7 separate regions of the Homo sapiens genome follow, and regions 1, 2, 4, 5, 6 and 7 are each linked to region 3. The links are contacts of gene promoters, found by promoter capture Hi-C in blood cells and fetal thymus (Javierre and others, 2016). All regions are on one chromosome and are shown on one strand. The core of a region is centred on a gene start or on the middle of the fragment in contact, and the rest is flanking DNA. Distances in the headings are between cores, read along the strand shown. Region 1 overlaps SIPA1L1 (signal induced proliferation associated 1 like 1). Region 2 has its middle 170 kb from the start of RGS6. Region 3 holds the start of SIPA1L1 (signal induced proliferation associated 1 like 1). Region 4 overlaps SIPA1L1 (signal induced proliferation associated 1 like 1). Region 5 overlaps SIPA1L1 (signal induced proliferation associated 1 like 1). Region 6 has its middle 160 kb from the start of RGS6. Region 7 overlaps SIPA1L1 (signal induced proliferation associated 1 like 1).

Region 1 (3,807 bases), core at 974-3,473, 320 kb after region 3:
CTATTTCAGATGACATGCTGGTCTGTTTGCAAAACCCTAAGGAATCTATAGATAAACAACCTGGAACTGCAAAATGTGTTTAGCAAGCTTGTATGATTCAACATCAACTTACAAAAATCAGTTAGATTTCTTTCAGTGAATATGTGGACACTGAAATTAAAATACACCATTTGCAATCCCTAAACAAACAAACAAAACTTGGAGCCAAACATGATAGCCTGTGCCTATAATCCCAGATAGTCAGGAAGCAGAAAGATCACTTGAACCTAGGAGTTCAAGACAAGCCCAGGCAACACAGTGAGATGTCATCTAAAAACATAAACAAAAGCTTGGGCATGCATCTAACAAAACATGAATAGGACTTGTATTTTGAAAACTACAAAACCCTGATGAACGAATCAAAACCCTAATGTTGGGCATGATGGCTCACTTCTGTAATCCTAGCGTTTTGAGAGGCCAAGGAAGGAGGATTGCTTGAATCCAATAGTTCAAGGCCAGCCTGGGCAACATAGTGAGATCCTGTTTCTGCAAAAAAATTTTAAAAATTTAACCAGGCATGGTGGTGTGCATTTGTAGCTCCAACTACTCAGGAGGCTAAGGCAGGAGGATCGCTTGAGCCCAGGATTTCAAGGCTGCCATGAGCTATGATCATCCTGCTACACTCTAGCCTGGGTGACAGATTAAGTCCTGTCTCTAAGAAACCAAAGACCTAAATAAATGGAGAGGCATACTATATTCACAAATTGAGAGCGTTAACATATATTAATCATGTCAGTGTTCTCCAAACTGATACAAAGTTTAACTTCTTAATTTTTATCAAAATTCCGCCAAGGTTTTTTTGTGGTTATAGACAAGATTATTCTAAAGTTTACATGAAAAAACAAAGGAACTGGAATACCTAAAACAATCTGAGAAAGAGGAATTAATGTGGGAGAAGTTATTCTGTCTGATTTCAAGACATGTTATATAGCTCCAGTAGTCAAGACTGTGTGGCATTGCTGGAAAGATAGACATGTGGATCGGTGGAACAGAATAGAGAAACCAGAAATAGCCCCACACAAATATATCTAGCTCATTTTTGGCATAGGTGTAAAAGTAATTCAGTGGAGGAAGGATAGGCTTTTCCAACAGTACTGGGACAACTGGACATCCATAAACAAAATAATGAACCTTGACTTTTTGGGTTTTTTTGTTTTTTTGTTTTTTTGAGACTGAGTCTTGCTCTGTTGCCCAGGCTGGAGTGCAGTGGCATGATCTTGGCTTACTGCAACCTCCGCCTCCCAGATTCAAGCAATTCTCGTGCCTCAGTCTCCCGAGTAGCTGGAATTACAGGTGCATACCACCACACCCGGCTAATTTTTGTATTTTTAGTAGAGACGGGGTTTCACCATGTTGGCCAAGCTGGTCTCAAACTCCTGATCTCAAGTGATCTGCCCACCTCAGCCTCCCAAAGTGCTGGGATTACAGGTGTGAGCCACCAGGCCCCCGGCCTAAACCTTGACTTTTAAGCATCAACAATTAATTCAAATGGATCATAGATTGAAATCTACAAGTATTAAATTTTTTTGAGAAAAACATAGGAGAAAATCTTTGGGACCTTCAGCTTGGTTAAGAATTCTTAGATGTGGCACCAAGAGCTTGATCTAGAAAGAAAAAAAAAATTTGAGAAATTGTAGTCTATCAAGATTAACAATATCTTACAGTGCTTTTTCTCTTAGACATTTGCTGATAGGTTAAGAATCTTGGGGCTTTTCCATCTAGCATAAAGCAGCAGATAAAAAGTTAGGAGACAGATCAGAGCTTTCAGTGATCAGATCAAATCAGAGCTTGTATAGGGCTTTGGAGGTTACAAATTGAATTCAAGGCTTACTAGAGAACTCAAATCTGTAAAACAATTATATTGAAATTCATTTTTTTTCTTCTTCTTTGAGACGGAGTCTCACACTATTGCCCAGGCTGGAGTGCAGTGGTGCAGTCTTGGCTCACTGCAACCTCCGCCTCCTGAGTTTAAGTGATTCTTGTGCCTCAGCCTCCCGCAGAGCTGGGATTACAAGTGTGTGCCCCTACGCCCGGCTAACTTTTGTATTTTTAGTAGAAACGGGGTTTCACTGTGTTGGCCAAGCTGGTCTCGAACTCCTGACCTCAAGTGATCCACCTGCCTTGGCCTTCCAAAGTGCTGGGATTACAGGCATGAGCCACCACACCCAGCCTATATTGAAACTCTAAAACTAAAAAACCCCTAAAGTTAGACTCATTTAAAAGTAGATATGTTTAAGAACATACTGGACACAGTAGGAGAGAGAACTGATGAAGACAGATTACCAGAAAAATTTTAACTAAAGAACGGAGACAAGAAAACATAGAAAAATACAGAAAAATGTCTGAAAGGCATGTGGGTAACAGCAAAATATATATATGATTGAATTTCCAGAAGAGAAGATATTTATGCATTATTTGGGAATAAAAGCAGTATTTGAGGAAATGCTGGTAGAGATTTCCAGAACTGATGAAAGACAAGCATTAAGATAAAAACAAGGAGTTCTGTCCACCCTAAACAAGATAATCTAAAAAAAAAAAAAAAATCAAATATAGGCTCATAGTAAAAATTGCTGAAAATAAAAGAAAAAGAGAAAAATCTTTAAAAATAGCCAGATGGAAAAATACCTTTAAAGAACAACAAGACTGTTAAACATTTGCTGGGCTATAAAGCCTAAAGAAAAAGTAGAGGCCGGGCGTGGTGGCTCATGCCTGTAATCCCAGCACTTTGGGAGGCCGAGGCGGGCAGATCACGAGGTCAGGAGATCGAGACCATCCTGGCTAATACAGTGAAGCCCCATCTCTACTAAAAACACAAAAAAATTAGCTGGGTGTGGTGGCAGGTTCCTGTAGTACCAGCTACTCTGGAGGCTGAGGCAGGAGAATGGTGTGAACCTGGGAGGCGGAGCTTGCAGTGAGCCGAGATGGAGCCACTGCACTCCAGCCTGGGTGATAGAGCGAGACTCCGTCTCAAAAACAAACAAAAAAAGTAGAAGGCAGAAGACATTTCTAAAGTGCTGAAAGAGTAACCCTCACAATGGATTTTACACCAAAAATTTTCTTTAAAATGTAGGCAAAACTAATTTATAGTAAAAAAAACAAAATTAGTACAGTGGTTGCCTGAAGCTGTTAGATGATGCAGGGATGGACTGCAAAGAGGAACCAGGAGCTATTGGGGTAATGGCAGTGTTCTGTATTTTGATTGTGTTGGGGGTTTGTCAGAAGTTATTAAATTATACGCCTTGCATTTACTCTTCAGAAATCATACATCAATAAAGTTGATTTAAAAACTGAAGGCAAATTTCTGCTTCTTGCTAAGATTAAGTAAGAGGGACTGCATTTAACTTTCCACCTGAAACAACTTAAAAACTAGACAAAACAATGAAACAATGGTTTTTATAATGTTGGACATCAGGCATTGAAGGACATTGATTGCTTGGGAGATGGGAAACAAATGAGGTGAACCCTAAGATTGCACCAGCTTTCTGCCTGAAGAGAGTTTCCAGGCTACAGTACAGGCAGGGGGTACCCAGTTAAAGGCCAGAAGCCTCCCTGATTGAGATTGAGATGTGAGTCCAGGGAGGCTAGAATTCGCAGAGCACAGAGAATCAGGGAGGAGAGAGCCGTAAACAGTCTACCTCTGGTGCGAATAGTTTCAACTCCTACAAACCAGACTGGAAAACTTCATAATTGACATGGCATTGAGTAGAGCCTCACAATGCTTTTGCCTCAATAGTGGGGCAGAATTATCCTTAGACTAAACACTGCTGT
Region 2 (3,542 bases), core at 671-3,170, 440 kb after region 3:
TAGTAGAGACCGGGTTTCACCATGTTAGCCAGGATGATCTTGAACTCCTTACCTTGTGATCCGCACACCTCAGCCTCCCAAAGTGCTGGGATTACAGGCGTGAACCACTGCGCCCAGCTGACTGCATACATTTTTAACAAGTGGAAACACTAATAAAAGTGAGCAGGCTTGCATATCAAAAAAGCACTCACACCATTACTAAACTGACAAAGGAAGACTTGATAAACAGCCAAGGTCAAAGGTTTCAACAAAGACAAGGAAATAGGTGTGAAGGCCTGAAATAATATTATGTGTTCAATGTTTAGCTAAGTAAGTGATGTTTTTGATGATAACCACAGATTATTTACAGAATATTTACAGAAAACAAGGAATAATCTTAAAACTTACTAGAAATAATTTTGAAATTTGATGCGAAAATGGCTGAAACAGGCTGAAAATTAAAGAAATAGTCCCTTTCCAGAATGGAGAATTCAGAACAAGATTGTTATGAGTAATACAGTGAGAAAAGAAATCATGCATATAATATATCCAAATCAACTAGATCATTCTAGAGATAAAAGACACATTGAATCACTAACATGTATTATGTATACATCACTGAACTACCAGAAGAAAACAAGGGCATTGAAAATAGTGAAGGTAGTTAATTGGTTTTACAAATATTGTAAAAAATATTTTTAAGTGAAGAACTAAAAAACATCTCAACTTTGGGTGTTGATTTAAAGCAGAGGTGTTTATATAGAGGGCTAAATAGTAAGCATTTTGGTCTTCACAAGCTGGACTGAGCCTTCAGTCTTTCTGGCTATTTCAGGCATAAAGAAGAGGTCCCAGGATAATACCAGGGTCAGCCTATTCCAGACAGAAAACTTCAGGAAATGCTGAAAAGATCACAGTATCCTTAGCCCAGGATGCTGGGGGGGTTCCTGTTCACAACGGTGCTATTCTAAGGGACTTCTGCCAACTTAGAGACCGAATCTAAATTTCTCAACATCGTGTTTACTGCCTGCCACTAAAAGAACAAATTAGACATGCCTGCGGCACATGACATTTTATAATCTCTTATTGGTGTTGCATATTTTCTTTGTGAATATTTTAATGTTTTTATTATTTAATTGAACTTCCATATCTTTTAAAAGATACAGGCTATCTGACCAACCAAGTCGATGCTTTACATTGCAAATTTAGTATAGAATAATTTTTGGTTCTTTAATTTTTTTTTTAGGTTTCTTTCTGTGGTCCAACCTACCACCCTCATATTTCCAGCAGAAGGAACATGAAATGAAAAAGGAAAAAAGCCCTTACAATATCATACGAGTTTCTCTACCAGCACATCATGCTGGTGTCCTAAAGAAGCCAGACAGCAGAGTTAACGGGTACAAGTTTAAACGTTGTCATCATATTTTATTCTGTGTTCAAAACCACTTTCGTGATTTCCCTAATAACACATGCAAAGTCTCCTTTGAAGTTATGGAAGAGGGGCGGTGTGTGTGTTTTCTATTTTTCTTTTTTCTAAATGTACCGATAGGCTGGCCTGGGCTGGGATTGGATAGAGAAGTTGAGAGAAAAGGCAGAAACCACCTGTCTCTTGAAGTTTGCCTGCTGGTCCCCTAGCAACTGGTTTCTTGTTTGAGGCATATTTGAGCCATATAGGGAAGACTCAGAATGCTGTAAAGGGGCACAGAATTACTCTCCCACTGGATAATGAAGTTGTTTTTAATTACAATAATATAAACACTACATTTAAGCAGCAGTGAAGGAAAGCAGGAAGTTTGCAGAATGAGCTTTTCTGAGTTACCGTATCTGCTGTTGTGACAAGAGGAGCAGGTGTGTGCTAGGGGCCACCATTGACTTCTGGCTTGCAGGAGCCTGAGTCGCTCATTCAGCTTTGTCCGTGCCCACAGGGGCCAGGCAGGCTGCAGTCACAAGGGAGTTAAACAGGCGAGACACTGGAGAGCAGAGCTGGGCCTCGAGGGAGGCCGCTGTGTGAACTTGTAGGAGGCATTCGCTCCTGGAGGTGCAAAAGCCGACGATGTGCTTGCATGGCTCTGAGAGCAAGACCACAGGCATTTAGCACCTGGGTCCCTCACCTGCCTTGCCCCAGGCCCCTCTGGAGAGGACATGTCCCACCTAGAGTGGCATCTGCAGCTGAATGCTGCCATGTGAAACAGAGCCCGGTTACTGGACCACTTGGTAAAGAAACAACAGAAATCTAGATTTTTTGGGGTGGAGAGATGAACTGAAATCTCCCATTAAAAAAATATTTCAGGCCGGGGGCGGCAGCTCACACCTGTAATCCCAGCACTTCGGGAGGCCAAGGTGGGTGGATCGCCTGAGCTCAGGAGTTCGAGACCAGCCGAGCAACGTGGTGAAACGTCATCTCTACCAAAAGCACAAAAAACTAGCTGGGTGTGGTGGTGCACACCTGTCATCCCAGCTAATTGGGAGGCTGAGGTAGGATGACTGCTTGAGCTTGGGAGGCAGAGGTTGCAGTGAGCTGAGATCATGCTACTGCACTCCAGCCTTGGTGACAAAGTGAGACCCTATCTCAAAAAAAAAAAAAAAATATATATATATATATATATATATATATATTTCACTCAAACCTCATTCATTTGAGACACAAGGGCCAAAATTTGAACCACAAGTCTTTGCTTAAATCTTTTTTGTTGTTTGTTTTTTTGAGACAGGGTCTTGCTCCATCATCCAGGCTAGATAACAGTGGTGCAGTCAAGGCTTGCTTCAGCTTCAACCTCCCAGGCTCAAGCCTCCCTAGCTGGGATCATAGGTATGCACCACCATGCCTGGCTAGCTAAAAAAAAATTTCTTTTTGTAGGGATATTGTCTCCTTATGTTGCCCAGGCTGGTCTCCAACTCCTGGGCTCAAGTGATCCTCTTGCTTTGGCCTCCCAAAGTGTTGGGATTGCAGGTGTGAGCCACCGTGCCTGGCCAGCTCTTTACTTAAATCTTTTCCTAAATGGTCTGGGTAAAAACAAAAAACTTTTCCTATTCTAGTTCTAAAGCCATGAATCCCACCCCTTTCAGGCAGGTAGGTACACTTGGCGTGTTCAGGGTGACAGAGGCTTTCCAGTTCTGCAGTGCAGGCAGTGAACCCTGTCCCACCAGACACAGGGGGATCCAGCTCTTGAATGCCTGTCCCCCACTGGAACACAGATTCTTAGTAGAGAACTGGGTGAGGGGAGTGGCAAAAACTGGATGATCAGGGTATGCCATCAATATTTATATAAATGAAGAATCCAGTAAGGGAAAATATAGCAAAGTGAGGGAATAGAGCGTGTGTATATATTTTGGGGGTGTGCAGTGGTTTACCCATGGGCGTAGCCAAACCTGTGAATCCAGATGCTTTTGGATAGGTCATGGAAGGCTAACTCGTCCATTGAGAAAAAGTTTAAAAAGCGGATACATTACAAAGGTCATATTTTTAATGGCACCAGAGAGTTACAGAAGCTATAATACAAGGATAAATGGACTAAATTTTCAGGAAGGGATAGAACTGTCCAGAGATAAGTGGACAATGCCTACCT
Region 3 (3,704 bases), core at 946-3,445:
CCTTCCTTCCTTCCTTCCTTCCTTTCCTTCCTCCCTCCCTCCCTCTTTCCTTATAGTTATTTTGGGAGTATGGATGTATTTAGTTTGGGTCTTTGGTTTTAATTAGAGTATTTATTAAATAACAAGGAATCTGCTTTGAGTTAGTGTAAAAGCAAATCATGAACTATAGATTACCTTTGAAATTACTGTAACATGGTCAATATTTTTGTTGTTTTTGTAGTTGGGACAAGATAAATTTTAAAATAAAATTGTCAACATTTAAAGAAAATTGTCAACATATAGCTACTCTTTGTGAAACTGACCTACTATAAGATGAAACTTTTTTTATCATTTGCTGTAAAAGGAAGATTTGTTATTTATTGGAAAATTTTATAGGTCTAAGAGCTCTTATATTAAATTATATATATATATATATATATATATATACTCACACATACATATGTGTATATATATTTAGATGCAGGATCTCACTGTGTTGCTCAGGCTGGAGTGCAGTGGTGTGATCAGAGGTCACTGCAGCCTTTAACTCCTGGGCTCAAGTGATTCTCAAGCCTCGGCCTCCTGAATAGCTGGGACTACAGGTGCATGTCAGTATACCTAGCTAATATTTTTTATTTTTGTAGATACAGGGTCTCTCTATGTTGCCCAGGATAGTCTCAAACTCCTGGCTTCAAGCAGTCTTCCCACCTGGGCCTCCCAAAGTGCTGGGATTATGCATGTGAGCCACCATGCCGGCCAGCTATAGAATTTTAAAGCTGTAATAACCTAACATGTGGGGTACCCCCCACAGATGAAGAATCAGAGAGATTAAATAACTTCTCAAGGAGACTCAATTATTAGTGGCACAGAAAAACGTAAACCCTAGTTTGCTGACTTTGTCTAGTATCACTTAGGTTTCTAATACACAAACTTTCATTGACAGGATTTAAACTTGCAAGTGACTTACAAGTTTTGACTGCCTAGTCCTCATATGCTTAGGTTATGCTTTAGGTTTCTAGTTCTGTGGGACTGAGTTAAATAATGGTTTCCCCATGTTCATGGATAGGAATTTTAAAAATTGAGATATAATCCACATACAATGGTATCTATTTTTACTCATTCATTTTGAAATCTAAAGTTTAACTTCTATTCATAATATCCATTTTACTTAGGCAGTGAGTATATAATAACCCTCACCTCAGAAAAGTTTCTACAGTTAAAAGACACGGGCTGAGGAGAGTTCATCTTCATCCTTACTAGCATTTTGGAGTACGTATAAAGGCGTCTGCGGATGCCTAATGATTAAAAAAAAAGTTCCCCTCACCATGGTGAATAGGGTTTTTACGAGAAAAATATGGAGAAAGCAGAGATTATTACCATTGAAAAAGACAAGGTGTTAACAGAAATGGGAGGGTAGCTTGATAGAGTCCAAACTTGACTGAACTCTCTAGGTTAGGGCCAAAGGCAAGTACTGAGGACAGGCATGGACTGTTGCGTTCAACTTGTCAAAAAAGTGGCCAATATGTAGTATGGACCAAGCCTATAGAGGCGCTGAGAATACAGAGATGAATGAGCCAGTTCCTGAAGGAGCCCAGTCTGCGTGTGTTTGCGAGTTGAGAAGAGGAGGAGGGAGGCAGCATGGGGAGTGTGGGGATGGAGGAATTAGATTGAAAGAGAAGGCCGAAAAACTGAATATATAGTAGAAATTTGGGGTGCAGATATGTGCTGCCTAGAAAGGCAGAAACCTGTCCCAGAACCTCTTAATACATTAGTCTCATTTGCCAAATTTGGCCAGATATCATGACTGTGGTCCTCTCGAGATGCCCTCTTGAATCGGCTTAAAAATTATCCTTCCGCAACCACCCCTAGCTTTCCCCACCGCCAGTGCGCCGGGCAGGTTGAAAACTGCACCCACGTTTGCAGCCTCTGCTCTCCGCAGGAGACAGGAATCCAGGGCTTTGCCGTCGTCATAGCAACCAGAAGTTCCGCGGTCCCCTACCCTCCCGCGACTTTTTCCACTTCCTCCGCCTGCAGGGCCCAGCCGCCGCTTCTCTCGCGAGACTTGTGCGCCGCGCTAAGCCGCTCCGTGGTGATCTCACCCGAGACTTGGGGGAGAGGGAGGAGTGAAGGAGGGGAAGGAATGGGGCGGGAGGCGGGGCGGGGAGGGGAAGGGCGAGTGAGGCGCCGCCACTGCCGGCAACTTTGTGAGCGAGTTCAGTGCGTGCGTGAGCGAGTGAGCGAAAAGTCAGTGCAGCGCCGAGTCCCCGGCTGGAGGGTCCCCGGGGAGGGCCAGGTCTGGGCCCCAGAGGCCGCCCCCGCAGCCACTCCATTCCCTCCCGCCTCTGTGGCTCCCTCCCCATTTCCTCCCCCACCGGTCGTTGGGGCCTTCCCGCCCCCGTCCGCACTTACCTGTCCCCTCCCCCATGCGGTACGCACCTCCTCATCCCCCCCCCGGCAACCTCGCGCCCACCTTGGACCTTCGGAGCCCGGACCCCCGCACTTGCTTCCCGTACTGGCCGCCCCCTCAGTTCTTTCTGCTGGCGGGCGGGATGGGGGCGCTGAGCCTCGGGGACGGCGCGAGCGGGGGCCCGGGCGCCTAGACAATAGTTGATGCCCAAGGACGGGGCCACCTCCGCCTTCCCCTCCTCCGGGAGCTCGGCCCCCGCCGGCCCCCCGCCAGCCTGTATTCCGGGTCCCCCTCGGAGCCAGCCTCGGGAATTGGGCTGATTCCACCCCCGCCTCCCTCGGGCCCCCCTCCGCTCCGCGCTCGGCGCCCGCCTCGGGCCGGCCTCGCCGCTCTCCGCAGAGGAGGCGGCGAGTGAGCGCGCGCCGGCCGTCTACACGGTTTCTCTTTCTCCCCAGGGAGAGCGCGCGGCGGACGCGCCCGGGACGCGCGGCGGCACCGGGAGGCCGGGCCGAGCGGTAAGTGGTCCCCGCGCCCGGGTCCTGGGGGGAGCGGGGGTGCAGGACGGCTGACAGCCCCCTGCCCTGTTTCTGGCCGGGGTTGGGGTCCAGGGCCCGGAGCAGGACCCCAGGAGGCCGGTTAAAGTTTGATTTTCGATTTGGTGGCTTGCTGGTAGCTTAGCCCGGCGGGGGCGAGTCCGGCTTCACCGCGCCCGGCGCGCGCGCACGCACCCCAGAACCCGAATCTGCACAACTACTGGGCAGGCGTCTCTGCGGGAGGCCAGGAGACCCGCGTCCCGGTCCGGGCGGTTGCGTCCACCCCGCTGAGCTGGTCGCCACCTGGCGACCCTTCCCCTCCAGTCACCTGGGTGAGCGCTTTGCAGCCTGAGCTGGAGTAGGCAGGCCGAGTTGGTTGAGTTGTGGGAAATGGAGACGAACAGCTCGGTGCCCGAGGGTGGTTAATTTCCCCTTTGGGGGTCTTGGGGACATGAAATTTTGGGATGCTCTAACCTGCTTTCCGGGGAGCGAGTAAACCGCGAAAGGGCTGGGAAGGCGTGAGGGTGCCGCAAAAAGAACTTTTCCTCCTTCGCCCCATCTGTTACCAGCTTCTCTCCTGACCTTAAAGGAAATTTCCGAGGCTCTTAAATCGCTCCACGGCATTTCTAGGTGGACCAGTAATCGTGTTGGGCAGGTTGAAATTTCATCGCGGTTTGGAGAACAGAGAGACATGGGAAATGGCTCACTTCCAAGGAAGATGTTTAGCTAAATTGTTGGCATTCGTTTTCTAAGAGAAGCATTTGGGGATTGATGGCTCCTAGACT
Region 4 (3,483 bases), core at 945-3,444, 410 kb after region 3:
AGCCCTCTCTGAGCCCCTTCCCTTCACTTTTTCTTGTTTTCCTGAATAAGATAGCAGCTGCAGTGATTTCACCCCCTAACCAGGCAGTCCTCATTGGGCTGATCCCTCAGCCCTGCCTTGCTTGGTGACTTCCACTGAAATGTGTTTGGGGGATGAGGAAGGGTGACTTCTTTTATCCCCCACATGGAAATTCGGGCCCCAGAGATAAAAGGGCAGAAGGGTTGTGAGTTACACACAGAATTATCTCCCCTCCTACTTACCCTTGGTAGGAGCACATTTAAGTAGAACTGAACATTTAATATCTTGCAGTGTTTGTTAACTTCCATTTACTCATGATTTTGCTAATTTTGAGCACAGTAATAACCAGCAGCTGTACTTCAGAGAAGTTCTTTTCGTAATTTGAAAGGGAAAACAAAGCATTTAATACACTGGCTTACCGGGCTGTCATAATACATGAAAATCTTTAACTCCTGGTAAACAGGTCTTTCTGGAGTCACTTAAATATTCTAGCTGAGCATTTAGCTTTAGCTGTGTGTTTGCATGGACCTGAGTGTCGCAGTCACCTTCCAAGGGTGCTCCTTCTCGTGGAGTGGTGTGCTCTGCCCTGGCTTCCACCCAGCTTCTGCCTACTGAGGGCATTTCTATGTCATGAGCGTCGTTTCCCCTGGACCCCAGCAGCCCGCCCTTCCTGTTATCTGCCTGCATGAACCTGAGCAATAGGAGCTGCCTTCAGTGTTCAGGGTGGCTCACTCTGCCCAGTCCTCCCTGCCAAGCAGATCTTAGTTGTTAATATGTCAGTTTGTTGTTACAATGGTTTAATATTTGTATTCAACAAAATGTCCCCTTAGGAAGAGCTTGGGATGTTAGACTGCTGCAACCCAAAATTGGTCCAAAGAATAGCTCGTGTGATGACTGCATCCTAGAGAAGAATAATGCCAGTTCCACCCCTAAAATCACCTTCCTGTCTTAGCTCTGTCTGAGTAACCCAGCACACTCACATCCCTTGATGTGCCCCTCACACCCCCTTGGACACCTTTGACCATGGAACCCAGTGGGCTGCCCCTCAACAGCAGAGAGGGCAGGCATGGGCCTTCTGTCCCTTACCACTCCCGGGCCAGATAAAAATAAACCCTATTAAACTGGGCGTGGTGGCTCACGCCTGTAATCCTAGCACTTTGGGAGGCTGAGGCAGGCGGATTACGAGGTCAGGAGTTCAAGACCAGCCTGGCCAACATAGTGAAACCCCGTCTCTACTAAAAATACAAAAATTAGCCGGGCATGGTGGCACATACCTTTAGTCCTAGCTACTTGGGAGGCTGAAGCAGGAGAATTGCTTGAACCCTGGAGGCAGAGGTTGCAATGAGCCGAGATCATGCCACTGCACTCCAGCCTGGGCTACAGAGTGAGAATATGTCTCAAAAAATAAAAAAATAAGCCCTATTGTCCCCTCTAGTAGGAAGAAACATCCCTGGTCTGGCTCCAAAATCCAGCTCCCTGTTGAAGTAGGCCTCTTCTTCCTGGCCCAAATCCCTTGACTCTGTGCAGGAAAGTAGATGCTAGTGCTGCCTAGGCCCTGCTGTGGACAGACAGCTCTCACAAAAGCAGACTTAGTGCCTCCATGCAAAACTAACTTTGCCATGACTCACTGCTGGAAGGGAGATGATGGGAGGTTGTGAAAAAATGAAGGCAGACTAGAGGAAGCCGATTCCTATTTCAAGTCAGCTTTAGAATAGCCACTAACAGCCTGCTAACCTGGACATTGATAACAGTCACAAATGGCTTACAATCTATTGTGGTAACAGGAAAGAGGTAAGTTTTGAGTGGCTCTTCCACAGGCACAAGAAGCATCTCATTCCTCCTCCCTTCCCGCAGGAGAGTTCTCAGCCTCGGACAGCTCCCTCACTGACATCCAGGAGACCCGCAGGCAGCCTATGCCCGACCCTGGCCTGATGCCCCTGCCTGACACTGCTGCAGACTTGGATTGGTCCAACCTGGTAGATGCTGCCAAAGCCTATGAGGGTGAGTCCACTGAATCCACACAAGACAGCCCAGGATCCTGCAGCGGAGTGAGCAGTCTCCATCCACTCTACTTCTCTGGACACACTCAAAACATATGTGCCTCACCAGATGAGCTATCAGTTACTGAGCATTCAGTAGGGACCAGACCCTAAGCTGGACACCTAGGCACATGTTTTATGTAATCAGATGCCACCTGGTGTTTCCTCCACAGGATTCATAACATGAATGCCTCGCCTCCTCCGTATATGGGAAGGGCAATGGGTAGAGGAATCCCAGCTGTCCCTTGACTAAAAAGAACATGTATCCAGAGAGGATCTTTCATCACGTCGCAAGACATTGTTGCTAAATGTCACAGTGCCTGCCCTGCTTGGCCACGCGCCTATCCTCACAAATGTGGGGCGCCCCCTTTGCCGTTCTCCCTCATCTCCGTGCGCGGTAGCGCGTTGTCTGTCTGCATTGTCTCCTTGCCAGCCTGCTGGCCGTGTGCTCGCTTTAGGCTGGCGGTTCTTAAATGCAGGTCCTCAGACTGGTGCTGATCTTGCCTGCTGTAATGAAAACACAAAAAGTAGTGCAGTATGTGTGTGTTGACATAAGATTGTCAGCTGGGGTTTTTGTTTTTTGAATGAAGACTGACTTTTTTCTAAGTTTAAAGATCTTTCTAAAATTTTTATTATTCTTTACAAACTTATAGCAGGTGATTTTTTTTTCTGTTTTTGTTGTTGTTGTTGCTCTTAATTAGGAGAATTGAAAATTGCTATTTAGTCAAGTTTTAATTTTGGGGAGAAATGTACTAGGCCACAGAATCTGTACGTCGGGCAACCATGGAATGGTCAGCAGTGAATCCTTTTACCTTCATGCTGTTTATTTAGCAGATGGAAATTCCCAGTTCTAACTTGATTTTTCAGTGTGTTGGTTAATCTCCTTCATATACAAATGGTAGAAGTTTTGGTTTCTAATGGGAGATTATTTTAAATTTGATTTAGTTTTCTTGGCTTAAATTTTAACTTGGTATGTTTTGGAATACAGGTGGTATGGATTTATGTTAAAGCCAACCAGAGTGTCCAGGAATCTTGTGGTGGAAAACATACTTCAAGAAGTTTTAAGCATAATGCTAGCTCTCGAACGCATTTATTTCATTGCTGAGTGGAAAGCCTTGGTCTGGAAATTTGGCACAAGGACTGTTTCCAGAGAAACATTTCATAGAATGCTACAGTGATGAGCAGGGAAGAGGGGGGACTAGAAATTGACTCACAAATGTTTCTTAAAGGGAAATTACATGGCTACAATCCTCTTATAGCTAAAACAGTCATATTTTTCCCTGTGAGGGTTGGGAAATAAGATTTCCAGTGCATCCTGCACTGGAAATACTAGACATGACTGCCAACTAGACCACTTGTTGACTTTGATAGATAGGGCCAGGGATGTGGTTCCAAAATACTAAATGGTTTCTTCTCTCCTTTCCAG
Region 5 (3,804 bases), core at 1,058-3,557, 340 kb after region 3:
GGAGATAGCAAAGAACATAAATAACAATTGCATATGTGCACATCATACACAGAGCTTCTCTTAAAATGATCTAAAAGCTCAATGCCCAATTACTAAAGTGTAAGTGAGGTAGTAAAATGTGGAAACTAAGAGGTGACAGATTGTTACAGAGCAAACTGGAAACTGGCACTATTGTTTTAGGGAATATGTGGTAGTTGATTTTTTAAAATATTTTAAAATAAATAGTAGCAAATTGAAATTTAAAAGAACCAGAGAGCTAACACACACTTCTTTTAAAAGCTATTACAAACTTGAGCAGTCCAATTTTACTTCTGACCTTCAAATGGATATGGATTTTTGTTTTTGTCAATTGTTGTGCTAACAGAGCACAGGCCAGCTGCAGAATGAATCACATCCTCTTTCACAGAAGTTAACCAAACACTGATCTAATCTAACACTTTATCAGTTTACATTTGATTAAATCACAAATCTAGGTAACAAAGTTTTGCCTTTCATGATTGCCAGTGTAATAAAAAATAGAGAGCAAAGCAATGAATCAGCTATAAATCTGAAGTAAACCTGTTTTAAGATAAACTCCCTGATCTGTACTTTGTTGATAATTTGTTTTATGCAAATTCCAGATTTTAGCTCTCTTTGAAAGAAAAACACCATGCTAAGAAAGGCATAATAAACTTATTCTGACCAGTCAGTAGATAAAAAATTTAAGAACATTAACAAAATGATCCTTAAAGAGAGCATAAAGGCTTATTCTGCCTGATCACTTAGAAGAGAAAGATGAGATTTGTAAGGGTAAAAAATTTACTAACAAGATTGGATTGATTATTTGTAACTAAATGAGTTGAAGTGGTAGGCAGAGAAAGTGGGCATTTAAATGGCAGCTCTCTCAATTATTTAATTTTGGAGTCCAATCAAGGCAAAAATGTTACAGTCTTAAATCAGAATGAGAAAGAAATTGGTACTGCAACATATGAAAAAATTTTCACTCTCTAGCCAAAAAATTTATTTTCCTCTATGTAGATTACTTTATGCTTGGAAAAAAAAACCAGGAAAAATGTATCTTTAAAAATTCTTTTGCAAATATTTTTAATAAAATATTTTTCATTATATGTAGTATAAGATGGAAAAATGGATTTGTTTCTATTTGGGTCCTTTATTAAGACATTTATTTTTATATGTCAAGCCATATTTTGAAGAATGAATAATATTACAGAAAATGACATCATTTATGCAGGAATGGCATAACATGTAGATAAATAGTATTTGTTTTTGGTATGTCCAAGATCTTGAGTAGATTAATAATCTTTAATTATTGGTATGTTCTGTAGAGCAATCAATACACACCAGCCTTTATTTTCATAACGTCTGTTTGTATATCATATTTAGAAATGAACTCAGAAATAAATTGCTTCATTAGAAGACAATTTGGGATGCTTTCAAATTCCTGAGGTTAAAAGTGCATTTCCTGAACATTCTAACTCCCAATTTGCAACCCTAATCTAAAAGGCTATTATTTCTCCCACCTGGCAGCCAATACTAGATCACTGATTTTACTGGTTTGCAATTTGTATGCCTTAATGTCACCAGAGAATATTTTTTTAAATACAAGTTTTGTAAGTACAAGCTTATGTCTAATGGATAGTTTATATAAATGTCACACTTAGTTGTTTTTCTTTTTTAAGAGCCTCCGTACAGTAAGTTTGAGAAACACAAATTTTGTTTGGTTTTCCTTTACACTATTGAATTAACTGCTGAAAGGCACTGACCTAGGATGATTTGGGGTGCCTGAGTTTGAAAGCCACCCATCCAAAACCCAGTGAATGTGAAACAGAGGGTGTCCCTAAGCAGCTTTCATTGCAGTTAAAGAAGCTGTTTAAACCTGAAATTTACCTGCTTTTAATTGTTGCAACATTCTGGAATATTATTCTTTTCTACATGCCCAGCTTGTGACACAAAACATATATCAGAAAACACCTTAGCCACATTTTCTTTCAATGAGGCCAGTTAAACCAGAACATAAATTACATTGTAATTATTTCAGCCATTCTCATCTCTAAAAATCTTCCCTGTGGCACGTGTTTTTCTTATGTGAAAATGGAACAACACTGTTGTTATAGAAACTGAGGGTTTGGTGATGTTGGGACCTGGCATAATATGCCAGATATTGGGTAGATCTATTTGAATGGCTGTATCTTTTATGCAAATTTCAGAATGTTCGTTTCTATGTTCTTCCTTAGAGGGAATAAGGCAGGTGAAAACATTGACAGTACCTGTGTAGATTACCTACCTTCATGTGTACTGATTAGGAATGGATGTTTTAAATACAGCTATATAAGGGAATTGGGGTGGCGGGGGAAGCAAATGATTGTTATTTATGTTGGTTGCTTATTTTTTCTTGTAGCTCCTGAGGAAGCGGCACATTGGAAATGATATCGTAACAATTGTTTTCCAAGAGCCTGGAGCACAGCCATTCAGCCCAAAAAACATCCGATCCCACTTCCAGCACGTTTTCGTCATCGTCAGGGTGCACAATCCGTGCTCTGACAGTGTCTGTTATAGGTGTGTATGGGTGTCACAGCAGGGGCTCTGTGGATGTTGGCTGGTTATCGCATAGAGGCCCCATTCAGCTCTGCATTCTAAAGTGGCAATGGGAAGTCTATTACTATTTCTTTTTGTCTTTAAACCATGCATGCGGATGGCTGAATTCACATGATGATGTAATCTGGTGGCATTGACATTACCCAAGCATGTTGGTTAGACACCTGCCGTTTCCATTTGCACCTCCTTCTTAGGTGATGTCCTTCATCCATACCATCTGGTCACCAACCAACTAATTACTCATATTGCTAATTATATTTTTCTTTTGGCATGGCAAGAGCAGAGAAGAACGATTATAATAAATAGGGAAGAGAAGTTAATTTTTTGAAAAGCATTGTTATTAAAGAAGCCTAAATCCTTGCCTCTGACTTACTTGATTCACGTTAGCACTCTGACTACAAGCTTAGAAACGCTTCTATACTTTATTTAGCATTATTGAAATTGTTTCAGTGTTACTTGTTGACGTAGTCACATGAGTATCAGAATTCAGGCCTCTATCTGCAGAGACCTTTCTTGTAAGAATACTAGAGTTAGGAGTTGAAGGAGATAGGGACCTGTCACGCTAGCTCGATAGGGGTGTAGTGCCAGAATGTGTAAGGGTAATGTTCTGGCATTTGTAAGATGTTTTTAATGTGCATCAGTTCCTTTCAAAATATGGACATTTGGCGTATCTTTCCATCCCTAAAAAATGTTACCTGCATAGAAAGTGACCTGTGCACATTGACAGTTTGTGAGATCCACAATTGTATATTTCTAGGAGTAAGGCAGATTAATTCTAGGAGTAGAGTAAGCGTAGCTTAGGGAAAAAAAACAAGTAGAGGTTATGTTGGTCTCCTGCTGGCTGTCACCATCCTTGCACATATCCTAATAACTGCATTGGTTGAGCTCTTGTTATAAGCCCCAAACTATTCTAGACATCTTACATGTATATCCCATTTAATCTTTAAAACCTATGAGGTAGGTACTGCTTTTATCTCCATTTTCAGATGATGAAATTTCAGCCAGGTCACTTGCCTCAGGTTAGCTGGCTAGTGTTGAGCAGAATTAGACAGGAATGCAGTCAGTTTGATTCTAGAGCCCAGTCTCTTAACCACGCTGCTATGCCGCCTCTCTTACATGCTGGGAAAGCTGGGTTTTTCACTCCGAGCTCCCAACACAGAGGCTGTTCCAGAACTTTTCAGGTGCTGAGCCTAGGTGAACACCCAAGAC
Region 6 (4,081 bases), core at 554-3,053, 460 kb after region 3:
CAGACACCTGAAGTTGGTCTTCTGTGCAGGATTCTGAGTGTGGAGGACAAAAGATGAAAACCCTTTGGGATTGATGGTTTTCCACATGCTTCTCCTGGAATCCGGAGTTCCAGATGTTTATTTGTTCACCTGTTTGTTATTGGCTTGGTTATTATTTCAATCATTCATTTCTATTGATTTCAGCACCTACTATATTTCTAGAGTTTCAATCTTCTATTTGCTACCAAGCTAGCTCTTTCTAGCTTTAAGAGATGCTCCCTTGTCTCATCCTGGTGTGAAAGGAAAATAAATCTTGGCCCCCCCAAATCACTAAGATAAAGGGAAAATTCAAGCTGGGAACCTGCCTCCCATTCTATTCAAAGTCACCCCTCTGCTCACTGAGATAAATGCATATCTGGTTGCCTTCTTTGGAGAGGCTAATCAGAAACTCAAAAGAATGCAACTGTTTGTCTCTCACCTATCTATGACCTGGAAGCCCCCTTCCTGCTTCGAGTTGTCCTGCCTTTCCAGACTGAACCAATGTTCATCTTTCATATCTTGATTGATGTTTCATGTCTCCCTAAAATGTATAAAACCAAACTGTGCTCTGACCACCTTGGGCACACATCGTCAGGACCTCCTGAGGCTGTGTCACAGGCGTGCATCCTCAACCTTGGCAAAATAAACTTTCTAAATTAACTGAGACCTGTCTCGGATATTTGGGGTTCACACTGGAAAGTGGGGATCAGGTCTGAGTGGTCCTACCCATATGCTTCCCTGTTTTTGGATAACCTGGTCATACTCACTTTCAAATGGAAAGGTGAAGATTTGAGAAATTTCAAACCATGGAAGAAGAACCTTTGTGTGGACATTTTGAAGAGAAGGGAAACGTATGTTATCTCTCTTTAGAGGTTTCTACAGCTGTGAAGTTACTTATGAAAAGATGTGAAGGCACATCTAATTTTCTGAAGTCAAAGACATTTAAATTCTTACCTTTCAGACAAATGGACATTTAACTCCTTTATGGATCTCAAGGTCACAAGGGCTCAGAGAAAACTTCCAACTTCCTTTTAACTACGAGTTCCTTGACTTTTCTTAAGCTTCTTGGTCCTGAGCCTTTTGAGCAAATAAGGCAATGGCTGTGTCCCAAGCATATCTAAGAAATAAAGACTTCACACATGGGGACTCAGGAAGAGCCATAGAAATGTAAGCAAAGTAGCAGTTCCCTGAGGCTGTTGAGAGCTGCTTTCTTCAAGCTCCTTTTATTCTTAGGCTTCTCCAGGGGAAGGATGGGCAGTAAGCAGATTTATAGACCATACCTTAGGTGGATAATCAACCTGACATTGTCAGAAAAATCTATTAACATAGCAGTACACACTGCAGACATTTCTACCTCCCACTTGTAGAATACAATACAAGGTTATTTTCTACACAAAGAAGAGTATATCATTTTCAATATTTCTTTTCTTTTTTCTTTTTTTTTTTTTTTTTGAGACAGAGTCTCGCTGTGTTGTCCAGGTTGGAGTGCGGTGGCTCCATCTCAGCTCACTGCAAACTCCGCCTCCTGGGTTAAAGTGATTCTTCTACCTCAGTCTCCTGAGTAGCTGGGATTACTAGCGTGTGCCACCATGCCCAGCTAATATTTATATTTTTAGTAGAGATAGGGTTTCACCATGTTGGCCAGGCTGGTCTCGAACTCCTGACCTCAAATGATCCGCCCTCCTCGGCCTCCCAAAGTGCTGGGATTACAGGTGTGACCCACCGTGCCTGGCCTCATATTTATTTTCTTACTGTAAAGAAAAAGAGAAGTGACTGAGATATTTTGCCTGTGAAGGTGCATGGATGTCTGGGCTAGTCACTGTAGTGGTTGGAGCAACAGTAATGAAGCCAAGGGTTTAGTCTGTCCTTAAACCTGTTAGCTTCAGTGTCTGGCCACAAATAATCCTCCTAATGTGACTTGCAAATGCCAAGCATTGGTCCTGAGAACTGGTGGAGAAGTACAGATGGCTCAGTGTGTATCTATCACCCCCAGTGGAGAAGTAATACTGAGCACATGCTGATAGCTCATTCTCGGCATGGACAAATGGCTTCCTTTCTGGTTGTGTTGAAAGTCGAAGGTTTTTCTTATTATAAAAAGATGCTCTTTAAATTAATGTTTGCTTTTGCTCTGATGTGAGAAGAGGAAAAAAAAGTGTGAATTGCAAAGACCCTTTCCAGCTGAGATGAAACAAGAAAGATAGGCGACAAGCTGAGAGGGCATCTGTGGTTTCTGTTTGGCCACAGATCCTGGGGTAGCAGAAAGACACACTCATTCCATTACAGCGGTGATGGCGCAGATTCAGAAAGGAAATGCAGACCTCCAAGGTCATGGACTTTCTCTGAGAAGAAAAAAGAGCTAATGAAGGAAGCCACAAAGAGATGGCAAGGGAACCAAGGCAGGAATGAGTCTGTCGATAGCAATTTCCATTGGCCTTTGTTATGCGCAAGACAAAGAGGCGACATCTAAGCCTGAGTCCTTCAAGGACAATCATAAACCAGCAGAGCTTTCCCAAGCTTCTGCAGTAGGTTCACAGATTAACTGGGTCAGTGTCTTATTTGCAACTCAGCTGGTGAATGATTGTGCTGCCCTTCAGACATTGTTTGACAGTTTGTTCTCTGTGCTTTGAGGAATCCATGAAGACAATTGGTAAGTTGAAGAGTGCTAATCAGAGAATAGTTAGCGTCAGCTGAGAGCGGATCTCTTGGGAAGTCAGGCAGAGCCTGAGCCTCAGCCTGAGCAGGTCCATACATTTGATTTTGGTTTGTGTGTTCAGAGGTGAAGAGGCCCAAAGTACTGACTCACACTAGTCAAACTGACAAGACACAAATGCAAAAGCCTCAGTAACAATTCACTAATTTGGAGCAAGAAACATAACAGTCAACATACTATATCAGCTAATTAGCACGTTGGCTCTCTGGAGGGATAGAAAACTGAAAATGCCTATGAAGCAAGGTAGGTAAAGAAATGAATTGAGCAGGTGTGAGGTGAAAGGGAGTTGTTGGGAGTGGGCTGAACAGGGGACTCTATTCCCCTTCTAAAATATGCAGCCAATATAATCTCCACCTAATTCTTGCTACTCAGGGTTTGATGTGGCCAGACCTTCTGATTTTTCAGAAGTTGGAGATTCAGATTTATAGGAGTCATTTCCTGATTTATAAATATTAGCAACTAATTTATAAAAGTTTTAAAAATCATTGTGTAAGACAAACCTGCCAGAACATTTCTCATTTGCAACCATGAATTACAAACAAAAGGCTGCTTTGGGAGCCAATTTCAGGACAAGGTGGGGTAGTTGGTTGACTTCAGTGGTTACTGTCATCAAACCCACAGCCTGATGCATCTGCTTCCAATACTGAAGACACATCAGACAGGAAGGGCAGAAGCCGCCTCTTCAGCAGTCGCATTTGTCTCCAACCTCCTAGCTTTCATTAAAACCACCAATCCCTCTGCTAGCACAGGTTCTTTGTTTACATTGTGGAGTTTGCTAACTAAGCCTCCACCTTTCTTTTTTTTTTTTGAGACGGAGTCTCGCTCTGTCACCCAGGTTGGAGTGCAGTGGCACAATCTCGGCTCACTGCAAGCTCCACCTCCCGGGTTCACGCCATTCTCCTGCCTCAGCCTCCCAAGTAGCTGGGACTACAGGCACCCGCCACCATGCCCGGCTAATTTTTTGTATTTTTAGTAGAGGCGGGGTTTCACTGTGTTAGCCAGGATGGTCTCGATCTCCTGACCTCATGATCCGCCTGCCTCTGCCTCCTAAAGTGCTGGGATTACAGGCGTGAGCCACCGCGCCCGGCCAAGCCTCCACCTTTCTATACATCTTCTGGGACTGCATTCTCACTCCCGAATTAAGTTTTACAAATCCTTTGGTTTTTCCTAAGGATCCTCCTAAAAACCCTGCATTGTGTCCACACAGAAACACAATCTTCTCCATTAAGGATTGATTTTTCTTGTTTAATTTCCCAAAGGTAACAATGACAATATTATAATATATTCAAGAAATGTTTATTGAGCAGCCACATGGAACTATTTTTAACGTTGGATGTATTAGAAAACAAGCCA
Region 7 (3,602 bases), core at 69-2,568, 400 kb after region 3:
ATCTGTAATCTAGGAGATGGCATATTGGCCATGGAATACACCATAGGATTTTAAGGTGCACAAATTAAACAGATACAAGCACATGGTGACAAATGAAGATGGCTTACTATTGCATCTTTCAGTTCACTGGCCAGCAAACTGCATTTCAGCAGTCAGCTTGTTCAGATTCTACACAATAGACAGCAGGTCAGAAACTCAGTGGCTAATGGATAAAGCCTGCAGCTGGTAATGTGCCATGTCATACACATTAGCATAGCCTAGTACCACCAAACCAAAATCCTGTTCCACCTACTAAATGGCTGTTTTTACATGTCTGTTGAAAATAAAAAAGATTATCAAATGTATTGCAAACTGTAAATGTCATTTTAAGACCAAAGGTTTTTTGTCATTTCCTTTTGTAAGCTCTTCATCACCTGCCTTAACAATTTTCTAGTGACTTTTCTTTTAACAAGCAGGTATCTCCCACAGCTCTTATAACTACACTTTGTGTGTTTCATCCTATAATCATATTTTCTCTTCTCAAGCATCTGGCTTTGTTTTCTTTATCCTTTTTAGATGCAAAACTTGGACATGACACTCTTCTCAGCTATGCCCAATAAAATGATAATGTTCATAGATATCTTGTTAGCCCCTTATTAAATAGCTTAGCGTTACAGGCTTTTCAGCTTGTGGTCCACGGTGATCCCTGAGGCTTCTACTGCTGCATATAGCTGGCCACTCATTTCCCTATGCTGTATGTATTAATATGCCCTTATACTGTTAAATTTCTGCCTTTTATAGATGGACAATTTTTCTTTACTGCAGTCACTTGGATATCTTCTTTGTCAACTTAATCATCCCTACTTCACTTGTTTTCCCCCAGTCCTTTGGAATTAGTGTCTTCTAAATTGTGTTCCGTACGGTACTCTATTGGATAGAGTACAGAACTGGCTAGTGCTGAACACAGTGGGAGGAGTCCTCCTTAATCATTATCCTCCACATTATCTGTCACCCAAAGGCTTGTTATTTGTACAAGCAATCACAGGAAACCCGATCAGCTCTCCTCTCCTTGGTATTAGACCAGCATTCAGCCATTGCCCAGATTTTGCCACAGCCATTTGACAGGTGACTAATTGCTTCTCTCTGCTTCCTGAAAATACCATCTTTAGCAGGCCAAGCTTGTCTAAAACCCCCTTGCCATTCCTAAATAGTAGATGACTCCAAGTTTTCCCATCAGCAGCTTTCTACAACACAGACAGTGGCTGGCAGATGTTTTTCACAGGATATGATGATCTCAGTGACGATGCAGGAATTCACAGTGGTCTCCCCAGGCCTCATAGGTTCAGCACTCTGGGCCTTGACTGATGACATTCAGGCTTCCCAATCCTGTGTGGCTCATCGCTTGGCAAAGTCAGCAAATAGATGTAGGTCCTCCTTAAAGCAGCACCCGCTGAGAGTAGCATCTTTTTTGCAGATTGGTCATCTAGCATCCCCTCCTATAAAGCTTCGCCACAGCTGGGAATGTAAAATCACCAGGTTGCTGTACACGTGATCCATGGTTTCATTTGAGCATCAGGTCAAGATGAGAAGTTTGGACAGATTCAGGCTGTCCCAGATCCTCGGTGACCTCACTACCTCTCTTCTTTTTGAAACAGTCTGGCTCTCTTGCCAGGCTGGAGTGCAGTAGCACGATCTTGGCTCACTGCAACCTCTGCCGCCCAGGTTCAAGTGATTCCCTTGCCTCAGCCTCCCGAGTAGCTGGGACTACAGGTGCATGCCTTCACGCCCGGCTAATTTCTTGTATTTTAGTAGAGACGGGGTTTTACCTTGTTGGCCAGGATGGTCTCAATTTCCTGACCTCATGATCCACCCACCTCGGCCTCCCAAAGTGCTGGGATTACAGGTGTGAGCCACTGCGCCCGACCTCTTTTATATGGGGTATCATGTACTTGTGTATCCTCTCTTCCTTTTCAAAATTAATATCCTGACATGACCAGACAGAATCTAAGGTTGTTCCTTTTTAGGAAAGGAGAAATGCCCTATAGCTTATAGAAAAATTAAAGTTAGTAGTTTCTTCATGTAGAATTTAGAGACAACTTGAGTAAATTTCTAGTGATTCCAATTTGGCCATACTCAGTTAAACTCACTTCTTATACATTGAGAAAAGTAACATATTGCAGTTATTATTTCCTGTTACATCTAATGCTCTTTTCCTTTTGTTAGATATTATTGGTTCATTCCCTTCTTACGTAATTCCTATGACAAGATTTAACTCTCTGTGAGTAAAATGAAATTGCAGCCTATTAAATTAACATGAAATTTCCAGGATAATGAAAGAGCCCAGCCACACAGCTCCCCTTAAAAATTATGAAGCTGATAGCTTCATGGTAGTTGTATTGTAATTTAATCTACTTCAGAGATTCTTAGGTGAAGTGTATGGGTGCACATCCCTTGACGCAGTCTCAGGCCAGTGGGTTGGTCAGCTGCAAGGAGCCCACCCACAGCTGTGCCCAGAGACAGACTCATTTTAGAGTGGGAGGAGTTGAGGGGCTAATGCAGTATTTCTTCAACCCAAAAAAACATGAGAATACTTTGGAAGTGTGTTAAAATACAGATTTCTGGGGCTCTGGAAGATCTAACACAAGCCCAGGATTCCCCAGTTACATCAGTACCTACAGGTGGCCATGTTCTGTGGCTTGAGAAACACTGCTGCCGCGACTTCACCTTCTTCACCTAGACAATATGGAACTGGATTTTGACCGTCATAACAATGTGTGTAATTCAACTGGATGAGAGTGAGCAGTAGGCCTCAGTTGGTGTGAACACTTGGAGGACATTTTACCTAATCTTCCAGGCATCATTCCTCCTTTACTAAATTAAATATCTAGGATTGGGACACAAGAAAGTATGCTTTAGAAGAGCTCCCAGGTGACGCTCACAGGCCCACTGAATTAGAGGCCCTGTGTACTGAAGTGCACAGCTTCATGCTGTGAGTTGTGTGCATTAAAGAAGAAAGCCATACCAGTGAATTGTTCATTTGTTTCTCTCATAACCTTTGTGCCTAAATCTAATCAATTAAATGGGGCTGTCTCAATTAGAACCACTAGTGAAAAGAAGTGCACTGGCATTTCACACCTGGGAGCTAGTGTCAGCCCATTGTGTTCATAGATAAAACCAAGGATCGGGGTTGATCTTATTTAACCAGTTATCCTTTTAAGAATACATGTGAAAGCCAGGTGTGGCAGTGAGCACTTGTAGTCCTGGCTACTTGGGGGGCTAAGGTGGAAGGATCGCTTAAGCCCAGGAGGCTGAGGCTATAGTGAGCTATGATTGCACCACTGCACTCTAGCCTGAGCAATGGAGCAAGACCCTGTCTCAAAAGCAAAAACAAAAATTAAGAAAATAATAGCCTTATTTTGTCTGTTTTGGGACTTTATATAATATAAATAGAATCATACTATCTGCATTAATTTGTGCCCTGTGTCTTTAAGTCAACATTATGTTGCTAAGATTTATCCATGTGTTGCAGGTAACATTAGCTTTTCTCCATGGCTATGTTATAGTTACAGTGTGAGAATATAGCAGCTCATTTGTCCACTATACTGTTGATGAACATTTGGATT

The links. Contacts are between HindIII fragments. The CHiCAGO score rates a contact against its expected background, and 5 or more counts as called.
Region 1: a contact is called between a fragment that was not itself captured here and the fragment with the promoter of SIPA1L1 in region 3, in 5 of 17 cell types (neutrophils, total B cells, monocytes and 2 more). The highest score is 16.8, in neutrophils.
Region 2: a contact is called between a fragment that was not itself captured here and the fragment with the promoter of SIPA1L1 in region 3, in 13 of 17 cell types (neutrophils, naive CD8 T cells, fetal thymus and 10 more). The highest score is 23.1, in neutrophils.
Region 4: a contact is called between a fragment that was not itself captured here and the fragment with the promoter of SIPA1L1 in region 3, in 11 of 17 cell types (neutrophils, activated CD4 T cells, naive CD4 T cells and 8 more). The highest score is 24.0, in neutrophils.
Region 5: a contact is called between a fragment that was not itself captured here and the fragment with the promoter of SIPA1L1 in region 3, in 12 of 17 cell types (neutrophils, activated CD4 T cells, total B cells and 9 more). The highest score is 20.3, in neutrophils.
Region 6: a fragment that was not itself captured here is called in contact with the fragment with the promoter of SIPA1L1 in region 3 in 1 of 17 cell types (naive CD8 T cells); the score reaches 5.0 in naive CD8 T cells.
Region 7: a contact is called between a fragment that was not itself captured here and the fragment with the promoter of SIPA1L1 in region 3, in 12 of 17 cell types (neutrophils, naive CD8 T cells, activated CD4 T cells and 9 more). The highest score is 17.7, in neutrophils.

What each region holds. Positions count from the first base shown.
Region 1 is chr14:71,638,715-71,642,521 of GRCh38, forward strand. All of the region lies in intron 7 of SIPA1L1 (signal induced proliferation associated 1 like 1), which reads left to right. Among named protein-coding and RNA genes, the nearest start is that of SNORD56B, 240 kb to the left of the region's middle. The HindIII fragment of the contact is 3,794 bases long and covers 327-3,807 here.
Region 2 is chr14:71,756,816-71,760,357 of GRCh38, forward strand. No RefSeq gene overlaps it. Among named protein-coding and RNA genes, the nearest start is that of RGS6, 170 kb to the right of the region's middle. RefSeq lists an enhancer at 1,472-2,030. The HindIII fragment of the contact is 5,795 bases long and covers 1-3,542 here.
Region 3 is chr14:71,318,281-71,321,984 of GRCh38, forward strand. It overlaps SIPA1L1 (signal induced proliferation associated 1 like 1), which reads left to right and starts at 2,196. Exons shown (of 24, transcript NM_001386936.1): 1 at 2,196-2,223; 2 at 2,842-2,901. It overlaps SIPA1L1-AS1 (SIPA1L1 antisense RNA 1), which reads right to left and starts at 3,568. Exons shown (of 4, transcript NR_184180.1): 1 at 3,394-3,568. RefSeq lists an enhancer at 1,675-1,834 and a silencer at 2,095-3,114. The HindIII fragment of the contact is 21,627 bases long and covers 1-3,704 here.
Region 4 is chr14:71,731,794-71,735,276 of GRCh38, forward strand. It overlaps SIPA1L1 (signal induced proliferation associated 1 like 1), which reads left to right. Exons shown (of 24, transcript NM_001386936.1): 21 at 1,873-2,019. It overlaps LOC124903342 (a long non-coding RNA gene), which reads right to left. Exons shown (of 3, transcript XR_007064259.1): 3 at 3,132-3,483. Among named protein-coding and RNA genes, the nearest start is that of RGS6, 200 kb to the right of the region's middle. The HindIII fragment of the contact is 8,106 bases long and covers 1-3,483 here.
Region 5 is chr14:71,658,912-71,662,715 of GRCh38, forward strand. It overlaps SIPA1L1 (signal induced proliferation associated 1 like 1), which reads left to right. Exons shown (of 24, transcript NM_001386936.1): 10 at 2,399-2,556. Among named protein-coding and RNA genes, the nearest start is that of SNORD56B, 260 kb to the left of the region's middle. The HindIII fragment of the contact is 1,376 bases long and covers 1,620-2,995 here.
Region 6 is chr14:71,774,625-71,778,705 of GRCh38, forward strand. No RefSeq gene overlaps it. Among named protein-coding and RNA genes, the nearest start is that of RGS6, 160 kb to the right of the region's middle. RefSeq lists an enhancer at 1-524. The HindIII fragment of the contact is 1,453 bases long and covers 1,078-2,530 here.
Region 7 is chr14:71,715,294-71,718,895 of GRCh38, forward strand. All of the region lies in intron 17 of SIPA1L1 (signal induced proliferation associated 1 like 1), which reads left to right. Among named protein-coding and RNA genes, the nearest start is that of RGS6, 220 kb to the right of the region's middle. The HindIII fragment of the contact is 326 bases long and covers 1,156-1,481 here.